Regions from separate parts of the Homo sapiens genome. Here regions 2 and 3 are each linked to region 1. The links are contacts of gene promoters, found by promoter capture Hi-C in blood cells and fetal thymus (Javierre and others, 2016). All regions are on one chromosome and are shown on one strand. The core of a region is centred on a gene start or on the middle of the fragment in contact, and the rest is flanking DNA. Distances in the headings are between cores, read along the strand shown. Region 1 holds the start of DNAAF2 (dynein axonemal assembly factor 2). Region 2 has its middle 9.3 kb from the start of MAP4K5. Region 3 overlaps L2HGDH (L-2-hydroxyglutarate dehydrogenase).

What was found. Contacts are between HindIII fragments. The CHiCAGO score rates a contact against its expected background, and 5 or more counts as called.
Region 2: a contact is called between a fragment that was not itself captured here and the fragment with the promoter of DNAAF2 in region 1, in 1 of 17 cell types (non-activated CD4 T cells). The highest score is 5.8, in non-activated CD4 T cells.
Region 3: a contact is called between a fragment that was not itself captured here and the fragment with the promoter of DNAAF2 in region 1, in 1 of 17 cell types (naive CD4 T cells). The highest score is 5.4, in naive CD4 T cells.

What each region holds. Positions count from the first base shown.
Region 1 is chr14:49,633,525-49,638,419 of GRCh38, reverse strand. DNAAF2 (dynein axonemal assembly factor 2) reads left to right here and starts at 3,176. Exons shown (of 3, transcript NM_018139.3): 1 at 3,176-4,895. The coding sequence starts at 3,271. RefSeq lists silencers at 3,555-3,604, 3,835-4,074, 4,345-4,614 and enhancers at 3,532-4,292, 4,105-4,344, 4,895. The HindIII fragment of the contact is 6,803 bases long and covers 1-4,895 here.
Region 2 is chr14:50,539,401-50,544,295 of GRCh38, reverse strand. It overlaps a transcript of MAP4K5 not described here and a transcript of ATL1 not described here. Among named protein-coding and RNA genes, the nearest start is that of MAP4K5, 9.3 kb to the right of the region's middle. The HindIII fragment of the contact is 3,612 bases long and covers 865-4,476 here.
Region 3 is chr14:50,276,480-50,281,374 of GRCh38, reverse strand. L2HGDH (L-2-hydroxyglutarate dehydrogenase) reads left to right here. Exons shown (of 10, transcript NM_024884.3): 6 at 2,821-2,855. Among named protein-coding and RNA genes, the nearest start is that of MIR4504, 21 kb to the left of the region's middle. The HindIII fragment of the contact is 6,330 bases long and covers 1-4,895 here.

The sequences.
Region 1 (4,895 bases), core at 1,927-4,426:
AGATCCACGAGGGCAAAGTTTTTTTTTTTTTTTTTTTTTTCTTTTTTTTAGGCTAGGCAAGGTGGCTCATTCCTGTAATCCCAGCACTTTGGGAGGCCGAGGAGGGTGGATCACCTGAGGTCAGGAGTTTGACAGCAGCCTGGCCAACGTGGCGAAACCCCGTCTCTACTAAAAATAGAAAAATTAGCCGGGCGTGGTGGTGGGCATCTGTAATCCCAGCTACTCGGGAGGTTGAGGCAGGAGAACTGCTTGAACCTGGGAGGCGGAGGTTGCAATGAGCTGAGATTGTGCCACTGCACTGCAGCCTAGATAACAAAGGGAGACTCTGTCTCAAAAAAAAAAAAGTACATTTTTTAACTCTAAAAGTATAAGATACATAAAATCTACTGTCAGCGTACAGCACAATGAATTTCACAAATTGCACACCCAATGTAACCAAGATTAACAGACCCTCACCCAGAAGCTCTCCCAACATGGCCATCACTAGCTTGGCTTAACAGATTTATTTTGCCATGTTTTGTCTATTATATGACAGAGTCATATGTATTATTTTACATCTGGTTTCTTTCAAGCACCATTATGTTAATGATACTCATCTATACTGTTGAGTAGTGCATTGTGTGGGTGGATATTTACATTTATCCATTCTACTATGAATGAGAATTTGGGTTGCTTCCAGAATTTGTCAACTATGAAATAGTGCCGCTATGAATACACACATTGTAGTACATGTGTTTTGGTGGGGATATGTGTTTCTGTTGAATGTGTATCTGGGAGAATTTCATTGTCGTAAGCCTTATGTTAACAGTGTTCCAATATATACTCCCAGGATATGAAAGTGCAATTGCTGGCTGGGCATGGTGGCTTGTGCCTGTAATCCCAGCACTTTGGGAAGCCGAGGTGGGCGGATCACCTGAGCTCAGGAGTTGGAGACCAGCCTGACCAACATGGTGAAATCCCATCTCTACTAAAAAATACAAAAATTAGCTGGGCGCAGTGGTAGGTGCCTGCAATCCCAGCTACTTGGGAGGCTGAGGCAGGAGAATTGTTTGAACCCAGGAGGCGGAGGTTGCAGTGAGCCAAGATCGCGCCAAAGCACCCCAGTCTAGGCGACAGAGCAAGACTCTGTCTCAAAAAAAAAAGCAATGCAACTGCTTCACATCTTTGTTAATTACCTATATAATAAGTGCAATAAGCACACAATAAATATCTGTTGAAAGGACTAATTTGAACACAGATGGCATTTAAAACTATGGGCTTGGATAAGACATCTTGGAAGAAATGTGATTAGGTAAGAGGGCTGATGAACAAAGCCTTGGGCAACTCCCACATTTGCAGAACTGGCAGGAGCATAAAGGAGGAAAATGGGAGAGCTTGGAGTTCTGCAAAACATGAGAAAAATGTGTTTCGAAGGGGCAGTCAACTGCTTTGAATGCTTCCAAGAGACCATAAGATAAGGCAGTGGTTTGGGAAAAGAGGATTCAGGAGTTCTGATCTTGGTCATTTCAAGCCTGAGTAGCTTATGCATTAATCACTCAAATGGACACCTCAAACGTGCAGCTGGATATAGGAGTGTAAAATCTGAGTCTAAGACAAGTATTTGTGAGTGTAAATATATTTCTGAAGGAGAGTATAGATGGGTAAGAGATTGGGTCCCAGTTTTGGGGCATTTCCATGTAGAAGTTGAAAAGAAGTAGATACCTACAGAGCAAAACTATGAGAGTGATGAGACAGAAGAGAAATCTGGAAAGTGTCTTGTCACTGAGGTAATGCCAACATCAACTGTGTTAAATGTTGCTGAGAATAGAAAAATGATCACTGAATTGACCAATTACCAATGAATAAATAATTACTCCAGTAAATAAATATACTTCCATATGATCATTTTGAATGGTTGCACAAAACTCTGTTGCGTGGCTCTACCAAAACCTGCTCAATCAGTTCCATTGTTGAATTTGTAGATTCTTCTCAAACCTTTAGAATCATAAATGATGTCACCTTGAGAATGTTCTAAGAGTATTGTGTCAAATACTCTAAGGGCATTTGGGTCAAAAAAATATGCACATTAGAAAGGTTTTAGGCCGGGCGCGGTGGCTCATGCCTGTAATCCCAGCACTTTGGGAGGCTGAGGTGGGCAGATCACATGAGGTCAAGAGTGGGAGACCAGCCTGGCCAACATGGTGAAATCCCATCCCTACTAAAAATACAAAACTTAGCCGGACGTGGTGGTGAGTCACTGTAATCCCAGCTACCTGGGAGGCTGAGGCAGGGAGAATTGCCTGAACCCGGGAGGCGGAGGTTGCAGTGAGCCAAGACTGCACCACTGCACTCCAGCCTGGGTGACAGAGTGAGACAGCCTCAAAAAAAAAAAAAAAAAAAAAAAGGTTTTGGACCTGGTGTGGTGGCTCATGCCTGTAATCCTATAATCCCAGCACTCTGGGAGGCCGAGGCGGGCGGATCACGAAGTCAGGAGATCGAGACCATCCTGGCTAACACGGTGAAACCCTGTCTCTAGTAAAAATACAAAACATTAGCTGGGCGTAGTGGCAGGCGCCTGTAGTCCCAGCTGCTCGGGAGGCTGAGGCAGGAGAGTGGCGTGAACCTGGGAGGTGGAGCTTGCAGTGAGCCGAAACTGCGCCACTGCACTCCAGCCTGGGTGACAGAGCGAGACTCTGTCTCAAAAAAAGAAAAACAAAACAAAACAAAACAAAGTACGGTGGTGGGTTGGTTTGAAGAATCTAAGAGGGCTATTTCTGGCATTTCCACTATTCCACCATGATTTCCTTGAGAGACTTGCTCTGTCGCCCAGGCCGGAGTGCAGTGGCGCGATCTTGGCTCACCGCAAGAGCTCTGCCTCCTGGGTTTCACCCCATTCTACTGCCTCAGCCTTCCGAGTAGCTGGGACTACAGGCACCCGCCACCATGCCCGGCTAATTTTTTGTATTTTTAGTAGAGACGGGGTTTCACCGTGTTAGCCAGGATGGTCTCGATCTCCTGACCTCGTGATCCGCCCGCCTAGGCTTCCCAAAGTGCTGGGATTACAGGCCTGAGCCACCGCGCCCGGCCTATTCCACCATGATCTCTACCCCTCCTCCCGAATGTTAGTGGTGTAACTATGACAACAAGCACGCGCTGCTCAAGGCTCAATTTTCCAGCCGTTACCGACCTCCACCGCGTCACTGTACGCTGCCCAGAAACTCTGAGGCGGATCCCCCAACCCAGTGTCAGACTGATCGCCTTTGGCCCGAGGGCGAGGAGCCACAGGACAGTATGGCCAAAGCGGCGGCCTCCTCGTCGCTGGAGGACTTGGACCTGAGCGGAGAGGAGGTCCAGCGGCTCACCTCCGCCTTCCAGGACCCGGAGTTCCGGCGAATGTTCTCCCAGTACGCCGAGGAGCTCACCGACCCGGAGAACCGGCGGCGCTACGAGGCGGAGATCACCGCGCTAGAGCGTGAGCGCGGGGTGGAAGTGCGGTTCGTGCACCCGGAGCCCGGCCATGTGCTGCGCACCAGCCTGGACGGGGCGCGGCGCTGCTTTGTGAATGTCTGCAGCAACGCGTTGGTGGGCGCGCCCAGCAGCCGGCCCGGCTCCGGTGGCGACCGGGGCGCAGCTCCTGGCAGCCACTGGTCCCTGCCCTACAGCCTGGCGCCCGGCCGCGAGTACGCGGGGCGCAGCAGCAGCCGCTACATGGTCTACGACGTGGTCTTCCATCCAGACGCGCTTGCGCTGGCCCGGCGGCACGAGGGCTTCCGCCAGATGCTGGACGCCACGGCCCTGGAGGCCGTCGAGAAGCAGTTCGGCGTGAAGCTGGACCGCAGGAATGCCAAGACCCTGAAGGCCAAGTATAAGGGGACCCCAGAGGCTGCGGTGCTGCGCACGCCCCTGCCCGGGGTCATCCCCGCAAGGCCTGACGGGGAGCCGAAGGGTCCTCTCCCGGACTTCCCCTACCCTTACCAGTACCCGGCAGCCCCCGGGCCCCGGGCGCCCTCCCCTCCGGAAGCGGCCTTGCAGCCCGCCCCCACCGAGCCTCGCTACAGCGTGGTGCAGCGCCACCACGTGGACCTCCAGGATTACCGCTGCTCCAGGGACTCAGCCCCGAGCCCCGTGCCCCATGAGCTGGTGATCACCATCGAACTGCCGCTGTTGCGCTCGGCCGAGCAGGCGGCGCTGGAGGTAACGAGAAAGCTGCTGTGCCTCGACTCGAGGAAACCTGACTACCGGCTGCGGCTCTCGCTCCCGTACCCAGTGGACGATGGCCGCGGCAAGGCACAATTCAACAAGGCCCGGCGGCAGCTGGTGGTTACGCTGCCAGTGGTGCTGCCGGCCGCGCGCCGGGAGCCCGCTGTCGCCGTCGCCGCCGCCGCGCCGGAAGAGTCCGCGGACCGGTCCGGAACTGACGGCCAGGCCTGCGCTTCCGCTCGCGAGGGGGAGGCGGGACCCGCGAGGAGTCGCGCGGAGGACGGAGGCCACGATACCTGCGTGGCTGGGGCTGCGGGCTCCGGGGTCACCACCCTGGGCGACCCGGAGGTGGCGCCTCCGCCGGCCGCAGCTGGAGAGGAGCGTGTCCCCAAGCCGGGGGAGCAGGACTTGAGCAGGCACGCGGGGTCACCGCCGGGCAGCGTGGAGGAGCCATCTCCTGGAGGAGAAAACTCACCTGGTGGCGGAGGCTCCCCTTGTTTGTCCTCCCGGAGCCTGGCGTGGGGTTCTTCTGCGGGAAGAGAGAGTGCGCGCGGAGATAGCAGTGTGGAAACACGCGAGGAGTCGGAGGGCACGGGCGGCCAGCGCTCAGCCTGCGCCATGGGTGGTCCCGGGACCAAGAGCGGGGAGCCTTTGTGTCCTCCGTTACTGTGTAATCAGGACAAAGAAACCTTGACTCTGCTCATTCAGGTGCCTCG
Region 2 (4,895 bases), core at 1,421-3,920, 910 kb before region 1:
AGTTATTGGGCCCAAGGGCCAAAGTGATCATCATGGCTTCCACTTTCCCATAACCCTTAACTCATACCTCATCTGGTGGGGTCACCCAACCTTAGTCTCAGAGGATCCAAGTCCTTAGTGCTCTCATCTTCATTGGGTTGCTTCAGTTTCCCACTGTCCAGTAATATTAGAGATGTGAATACTAAGAGACACCCTAGTGAATACCTGGGATTCCAGACATAGTCTTCCTTGTTTCCTTTGCGGAGCAATAACCAATTTCCCCATGGTAGTTAGAATCAATCACCCCAACCAGTACAATGACCCCCTTCTCTAACTGTTGATTTAGTGATCTGAAGACTCCAAAATAGCCAGATGGCAGTTTCAGCTTCCCGTTAAATAGAATTGTGACCATGTCATCTGGGGAAAGTATCAATCCCTTGGGCACTAGGGCCTCCAAACTCACCAAGTCCAATCCTATAGGGACAATATAATAGAGACAAAGTTGTAGAGAAAAAAACTTTCAAGAGAGTTATTAGGAATAATAGAAGAGCCACTCCTACCTCTGCCTCTTGGTTCACAGGCCCATGCATTCTGAATATTGAGTAGATGACAACATATAATGGTGACTGGGTTGAGTCCTATACTACATCCTTACAGGGGTTTTCTCTCAGCCAGCACCACGATTGATCCTTCTGCATACTTTCCTCTATCCTATCAAACTAGCTGTTCCTGAGTGATGGGTAAGATCAGTTAATTCCATGGGCATGACTCTGCTGCCACACTTCTCTCATAATAAAATTACTTTCTTGCTCAAAGATATTTGTGATACATGGTGATAAAACAAGGCATTCCATAAGCCCATGAATTGTGGCACTAATAGAAGCTTTCCAAGCAGGGAAGGTAAACCTCTACCTAGAATATGTATCTATTCCCATGATGACAGGTCACTCTTCCCTCTATAATGAAAGGAATCTAGTGAAATTAAACTGCCACCAGATGGTTGACTTATCTGTCAAGGGAACAGTATCATACTGGGATCTCTGCAATGGCCTCTGCTATAAGCAGATTAATCACTCCATAGTGGCAGTAACTGAATTATCCTTGGCAAGTAGAAGTCTACATTGTTGAATCTAATGTTAGCTTACATTCCTATTGTCACGTAGGCACACTGAGCAAGCACTAGAGTGACTGTGTAAAGAGGCTGATTGACACCTGGAGAACAGATCTTCTTGTATAACTATCGAGATGGATGCCCTCTGCTGGGCAGTATTGTAGTTCACAGTTATTTTCACATTCTGGGCAATTTTAAGAATCCATCCATAATACTTCTCCCACTGACTTCCTTATCTCAAATCTTCTTCCTTCCAAGTAATTGACCAACCTATTAGCTACTGTGCATGAATCAGTACAGATCCATACCTCAGATCAGCTCTTCTTCCTAAAAAAGAGGACAACCAGATGTATTGTTCAAAGTTATATCCACTGGGAGAATTTCTCCTCCTATCTTTCAGGGCCACCCCATTATGGTGTGGGCACAGAATTCTGTGGCTCTCTGCTTCAAGTTGGTGCTAGCATATTATGCAGACCATTAATAAACCAAGCCTAAACTTTTTCTTCCCCTGCTAAATGGCTATGAGCCTATAGATAATGGGTTGAAAAAAAAACAGGTGGCAAAGAAGTAAGGGCAGGTCCAATGGACATTTGTTCCATATGATTTACTTGTGTCTTCCAGATCATCTCAGGCCACCTCAGTGTATACTCTTCCATTTGACAACGGAATTCTGCTGCCCATGTTCAACTTACGATCCAGTAAATTAGGTAACATCCAATTTCTTTTATTTTCTTTTATTTTTTTAATTTTACTTTAAGTTCTGGGATACCTGTACAGAATGTGCAGGTTTGTTACACAGGTATACATATGCCATGGTAGTTTGCTGCACCTATCAACCTGTCATTTAGGTTTTAAGTCCCGTATGCATTAGGTATTTGTCCTAGTGCTCTCTCTCCCCTTGCCCCCAACCCCCTCCCCCCGACACCACAGGCCCCCGGTGTGTGATGTTCCCCTCCCTGTGTCCACGTGTTCTCATTGTTCAACTCTCACTTATGAGTGAGAACATGCAGGGTAACTCCCAATTTCTAAAGAGCAGTTAATGTCACATAGTTACTTAGTATCCTGTGGTCAGGAGTCTAGCCTCTACTAAGACCTAGAAGTAAATCAAGAGTTGCCTTTCAAACAGACAATAGCTGTCAGCAGATAACAGCATATTCTTTTTTTTTTTTTTTTTTTTTTTTTTTTTTTTTTTTTTTTTTGAGACGGAATCTCGCTCTGTCGCCCAGGCTGGAGTGCAGTGGCGCGATCTCGGCTCACTACAAGCTCTGCCTCCTGGGTTCATGCCATTCTCCTGCCTCAGCTTCCCAAGTAGCTGGGACTACAGGCACTCGCCACCGCACCCAGCTAATTTTTTGTATTTTTAGAGAGATGGGGTTTCACCGTGATCTCAATCTCCTGACCTCGTGATCCTCCTGCCTCGGCCTCCCTAAATGCTGGGATTACAGGCGTGAGCCACCGCGCCTGGCCAACAGCATATTCTTATACCAAAATCCTAGGGGTCTGCATTGGGATTCTCCTACTGGGGTTGCAAGAGACTCCATACAGTTTCCTGTTTACCATTGGGTCTGCTGAATCCTAAAGCCTAAGTGTCAGGGCAGCTTGCATCATAGCCTTCTCTGTAGTACATTATGTAGTTCCAAGTGATATGAACAAGGTGGCAGTCATACAGGTTACATGGGTCAAAGAGTAGCAAATGCAGTACATTGTCTCAAAATACAAACAGGCCAAACAAACACTGTGCATCTTTAAGGTGGATGATACAAGGTAGAGCACTACTTCCTTGTTAGAAATGTCACTAATGTGTCAGGTTCCTGAACTGGGTTTATCTCTCGTTCTCTGGTATTAGTGGTATTTTTTAAAGTATGTAGGGTGGTTGCTACTTCCTGCTCACAAGGTGCAATTTGCATAATGTTATCAAGATAAAAGACTACCATGATATTCTACTGGATATCAAGGAAACAAAGGTCCCTCTGGAATGATACTCTATCATAGAACAGAAGTCTTTAAATATCCCTGAGGTAGTACAATGACAGTGCTGTTGCAATCATGTGAAAGCAAACTGCTTCTGATTATTTTTGCTGACGGGAATTGAAAAGAAAGCTACTTTCTAGTTTTCAAGTCAATAGCTACCTTCTAGGTGCCAAGAGCTGTTCTGATTTGCTCTAGTAAAGATCCCCCATATGTGGAACCACAACTATGACTAGCATCAACATTTGATTAAATTTTTAATAATCCACATTCTCCAAAACTAATTTGGCTATTGCACAAGCCAAGAGGAGTTAAAAGGAAAAGACTTGTATCTTTCATATCTTTAATGGTGGCACTAATCTCTGTAATTTCCCTGGAGATCAAATTTAATCTTGGTATTCTACTTTGGCATGGGTAAGAAGTTAGCTAGGGAGGTTACACTTGTTCCTACCTATCATAATAGCTCCCTAGAAACCTAATGTAGGAATTCTGCTACTCAATATATCTATACTCACATATATTTTGGGACTGGAAAAATAACTCCAGAGTGGATCTTTAGTCCCACTTGACTTTCTTAAATCTCTACTTTAATCACTGGAATTTTGGCGGTATTTTGAGACTGCAGAGATTATTATTTAGAGCTAATATCAATTAACCTCCAGAATGTATGAGAATCACCCATTCCTTAGCTCACAATCACCCTGGTAAAAGGCTACAAGTACCTCTGGAAATGGCCTTGGGGAAAAGTCACCGTTTATACCTGGCTGCACTATGGGACTCTCCCTCAAAGACATCCGCCCTCACCCTTAATTAAGGGACTCCAGGTTTGTGAATTGGTTTATGTCTAAGATTCAGGTAATATGTCTTGAATCTCTGTTACAGAGATTTCAGTTAGGTTTCTACCAATCAGTCCCAGGATTTTTCCACCTACATATGTCAAATGGCACTTAAGTACGCTGATGGTTTTATTCATTCCTAGAGACTCAGGGATTAATAATAGGATAGCACCACCTATCCTTGCAATCAAAACATCCTGATTTCACTTCTTCCTGAAGGTTATTATAGTAACTGTGCTAAACATGTCTTTGACAGTTGAGCCACCTGACCTCTACCAGGATATAAAATCATGGATCCCAGTTTCAATGTGGGCTCCCAATCATCATCTCTAATCCACTGAGGGCAGCCACAGAAGAATCTTTCGAGGATATCTGTTCTCCCTCATTCAATGCCTTGAAAAGAGTAAATTGTATGGGCCCTCCTGGGCATGGTATGAATAGAGTTTGACTAAGCAGAATGACTATAACAGAGCAAATCCAACATCCCATCTCCCTAAACCTTGAGATTCTTTCTTCTACAGTATGCCAGGGAAATTCTGGCATCTCAGCACATAGATTGTAAGCTATTATTGAGAACAAGCTTCTAGTAACCCACTTAGAAGGACTTCCAGATGCTCAAGTCAACAGAGCAAATCTGAATCCCAGGTAAGTATTTAGCAAGATCCTACAACTTCTTCATTGTATAAGCTCTCCTCCAAGAGCATTCTGTGTACTTCCCCATTAGGGCTATACTGAAACTCTTTCTTCTAACTCATGTTTAAAGTTCTAAGCCTCATTCATATCTGCTCAAATGCCCCCATCCCATGTCATAGGTTCTAGGCCATCTCCACCAGTGCCCTTACTTTAGCATAACAGAACTGGGTCTCACGTTTAATTAACATTGCAACTCCAAAGCCTTTATAGTCAGGCCCTGGACTTGGTCCTCAGCCATATCTTCCCCTTAGCTATGAGAGATAATGGATTTCTTCAAAGCTGTCAAGGAAGTTTTCTGATTTTCTATT
Region 3 (4,895 bases), core at 837-3,336, 640 kb before region 1:
GTGATCTTCCTGCCTCAGCCTCCCAAAGTGCTGGGATTACAGGAGCGAGCTACTGCACCCAGCTTGAATGACAATTTATTATACTGCTGGAAAGGAGAGAAAAAAATTTTCATGACATGACATCTCCTTTTTGGCTTGTCTATATATATCAACATGTAAATTAGTCTTCCAGTGTGCTAGACTTTACCACTCCTAAGGAACACATACCATTCTGGAGAATTTTTTTTTTCCTTTTTCTCTCCCTTAGAAGTCTGGACAGCAAATCTAATTGTGAAGTTAAAATTTGCACAAGTACTTTGAGAGGCCAAGGAAGGAGGATCACTTGAGGCCAGGAGTTTAAGACCAGCCTGGGCAACATAGCGAGACCCTGCCTCTACAAAAAATTTTTAAACGTTCACTGGGCATGGTAGCACACACCTGTACTTCCAGCTACTTAGGAGGCTGAGGCAGGAGGATTGCTTGAGCACAGGAGTTTGAGGCTGCAGTGAGCTATAATTGCATCACTGCACTGCAGCCAGGCCGACACAGTGAGACCTTGTCTCAAAAAAATTTTTTTTTTAGGGCTGGGCGCAGTGGCTCGCGCCTGTAATCCGAGCACTTTGGGAGGCCAAGGTGGGTGGAGCGCTTGAGCTCAGGAGTTCAAGACCAGCCTGGGCAACATCGCGAGACCCCATCTTTACTAAACATAAAAATTTTTTTTTAATTAAATAAAATAATTTTTTCTTAATTTGCAAAATCCTATGGGACTCAGATGTACAGCTTACCGGTATAACTATTCAGGTTCTGTATCTCTAAATGGCAAACGTAGTCAGTAGGAAAATTGGCAAACCTGGTGTCTATGTGAAGAGTACAGGACTGAACTGATCCTTTTTATTGATAGCTGTAAATATGTCTATATAAAGCAGTGACCTGGGAGGCGCGTTGGCTCACGCCTGTAATCCCACACTTTGGGAAGCCAAGGCAGGCGGATCACCTGAGGTCAGGAGTTCCAGACCAGCTTGGCCAACATGGTAAAACCCATCTCCACTAAAAATACAAAAATTAGCCGGGTGTGGTGATACGTGCCTGTAATCCCAGCTACTCAGGAGGCTGAGGCAGGAGAATTGCTGGAATCCGGTGGGCAGAGGCTGTAGTGAGCTGATATTGCACCAGCGCACTGCACTCCAGCCTGGGCAACAGAGTGAGACTCTGTCTCAAAAAAAAAAAAAAGCAGTGACCCATGTGGCTCAGTCTTAGAGAGGTGTCAGGGTCACGAAGGAGTAATTTCAAAAGAACTCTTTTGCTTGTATATTTCTTTTTTTTTTTTTTTTCTTTTGAGACGGAGTCTCACCCTATTGCCCAGGCTGGAGTGCAATGGCACGATCTTGGCTCACTCCAATCTCTGCCTCTCAGGTTCAAGCAATTCCCCTGCCTCAGCCTCCTGAGTAGCTGGGATTACAGGCATGCACCACCATGCCCAGCTAATTTTGTATTTTTGGTAGAGATGGGATTTCATCATGTTGGTCAGGCTGGTCTCAAACTCCTGACCTCAGGTGATCCACCCACTTCGGCCTCCCAAAGTTCTGGGGTTACAGGCGTAAGCCACCATGCTCAGCCTGCTTGTATGTTTCAAGAACCATGAAAGGGATCGAAGCAATCTTTTTAAATATGCTTTTTCCTCTTTACTTTCTTCCTTCTTTTTTTTTTTTTAAATAATAAAAAGAGTTGAGGTCTCACTATGTTGTCCATGCTTGTCTTGAACCCCTAAGCTCAAACAACCTGCCCACCTTGGCCTCCCAAAATGCTGGGATTACAGGCATGAGCCACTGTGCTTGGCCCAAAATGCAAATGTTAGCATCACCCATACTTACTGAATCAGACTGTCTGGAAATAGCACCTAGTAATAAGCCTTTAGTGATTCTTAGACACATCCAAGTTTTAGAATGTCAGAATGACAGCCTAAGGTCATAAAATGACCTGGCCATTTGGAACTCCCCCCACCTCATGCCCAGCCCCCACAGTTTAAGAGTTCACTTAGAGTTTGTTTTGTTTTGCTTTGAGGGCATTAATTTTTTTTGTCCAAATGATAGATTTGTGAGCCTTCTATTTGCTGTTGAGAAATTTGAAGGAGAAAAAAAGTAGTGTTCTGTTCTTTCTTCCTTGACAGGTTTTTAAGGAGATCTAAGCCATCTGAATCATTCTGTCTTTCTGAATTCTAAGATGATGAGCAAAATTGTTAAATAATTAAGGTTGTTTTAGGTAGGTAGCATAATAAACCAAATTTGTGATACAAGTAGATTGTATTTATCTGCTCTACATACGCTTTATAAAACTTTGAGATCCCATGTATCTGAGTGGGAACTAATTTTAAAAATGGTCAATTTTTTATTAGAAGTTTTTGTGTTGTGAGAACTCTTGCTTTTCTAAACAACATAGAACCTGCAAGGAATCCAGTAACCAACACTTGGATGACAAGGTTTCTCATATCATAGCTTTAGTCTGTGGGAAAATACATACTGATTTATGATTATCCATTTTACATTGCGGTTTCCAGGATTATAGTTCAGAGAATAGCTATGTCTATATTGGAGGTCAGGTGGCATATGGTTTATAAGCATAGATTAGGTGAATTAAAATCAAGCTAAAAACATGCTGGAGTTTTATATGTTGTTAAGTATGAACTAGTTTAATTGTTATTTGGTAAAAAGTTTCAGAATGAACTGTAAGGTGCAATCATAGTAATGACAGAAAAAGGTTATTTAAGTTTGTTTCTAGTATGATATTTCAAATAATGTTGGCCTTTTGCTAAAAATAAATTTTTCACTTATTCTTTTTTTTCAGGAATGCAATATCCAATTGTTATAAAGAATACAAAGGTAAAGATTCTTAAGCAAAACTGCTGGCTACTTTCTTTCCCTCCCCTTTATTAAAAATTAAATTAACCCACAGGGCTGTATTTTAAGTTATTGAATGACATTTGTCTAATGTAATTCTGAGAGAATTTCTTTTAGGGAAGTTTAACAGCTTTTATTCTAAGGAGGGTTTCAACTTGGGAATGTCCTAATTAAGTGGCTCTGCTGGCAAAGAACAGGATTATAAGCATATGGAGTGTTTAATTTTAAGGCAAAACTAATATTTTATCACTCTATCTACTGATCTCCACTAACTTATTAACTCTCTATAAATCAGAAGACTTCGGAAGAGGGAGTATGCAGGTTGTCCAGAGGGAGATGGACTGCTTTTATTCATCTTCACATGGACCTAAAGCAAGAACCACTGAATGGCATAGAAGCAGTGGATTCCCTGTAGGTTCGCTGCATCAAGTTGTACTCAAGGGAGCAGAGTCATTAATGAGTGCTATAGGATTTATTATAGGAATAAGACCTTACACAATTGTGGAAGTTTCTGGGAAAGCATAGATTCAGAAGAGAGTTGATGGATCAGTAATTGGGAAACAGAGCTGAATGCGGAGCTGGAATTCACTGGACAGTGGGTATCTGTCTGTCACCTCATTGGACTAGGATGACCTTCAGAGAATAATACCTGCTGATTTACTTCTGCCACCAGATTATTATTATTATTATTATTATTATTATTATTATTATTATTATTATTATTATTTTGAGACGGAGTCTCACTGTGTCGCCCAGGCTGGAGTCCATTGGTGCAGTCTTGGCTCACTGCAAGCTCCGCCTCTCGGGTGCACACCATTCTCCTGCCTCAGCCTCCCGAGTAGCTGGGACAGGCGCCCGCCACCACACCTGGCTAATTTTTTTGTATTTTTAGTAGAGACGGGGTTTCACCATGTTAACCAGGATGGTCTCGATCTCCTGACCTCATGATCCACCCGCCTCGGCCTCCCAAAGTGCTGGGATTACAGGTGTGAGCTACCACGCCTGGCCCTCTGCCACCAGATTATATGCATCTCCTGTTTTGACCAAGTTTAAGTTGGAACCATGAAGAGAAGGGGATTCTGTCAAGCATAGTTCCTAGCTTAACCAAATGGACTCAGTACAAACCCCTACAGTCCACCCTTTGTCAACCTGACATCTGTCCACGCCCCTTATAACCTTATAACGATATTTAGCTTCCAAATAAAGACAGAAGTAAAAGTATGCTTCCACCTAACAAGGTGTAACTGTCCTTCATAGGACTGAAGACATGCTAACTAACTCTCAAAAAAAAAAACAAAAAAAAAACAGTCTACTTTATCCATCCTGGATTATGTTTAATTTCTACTAGCTGAGTTACACTCCCCCTTTGAGATCCTGTCACTTAAATACCAAGATATAAGGTTAACCACTATTTAAGCATTTTATATTAGATTAGTAGTTCTCAACTAGAGGCAATTTTACTCCTCGGGGAACATTTGGCAATGTTTAGAGACATTTTTGATTGTCACAACTGGGATGGGGGAGGGACACAGCTACTGGGATTTGGTGGGTAGATACCAGGAATGTTGCTAAACATCCTTCAGTGTGGGGAATAGGCCTCCAAAACAAAGAAATGTCTAGCCCCCAAAGTCAGTAGTACTGAGGTTGAGAAACCCTGTGTTAGATAATGTGGGAATGGTAGAGATGAGTGTATTAGTCTTCTCAGACTTCCATAACAAAATAGCACAAACTGGGTGGCCTAAAAAGCCCACAGTTCTGGAGGCTAAAAGTCCAAGATTAAGGTGCTGGTAGGGTTGACTTTTGGCTTGTTAATGGCTGCCTTCTTACTATGTCCTCACATGACCTCTTGTCTGTGTGTGCCGGAAAAGAGAGCGCATGATCTTGGGTGTCTCTTCCTTTTATAAGGACACCAGTCCTATTGGATTAGCCCCTACCCTTATGACCTCATTTAACCTTAGTTACCTCCCTAAAGGCCCTGTTTCCATATACAGTTCACATTAAGGGTTGGGACTTCAACATATG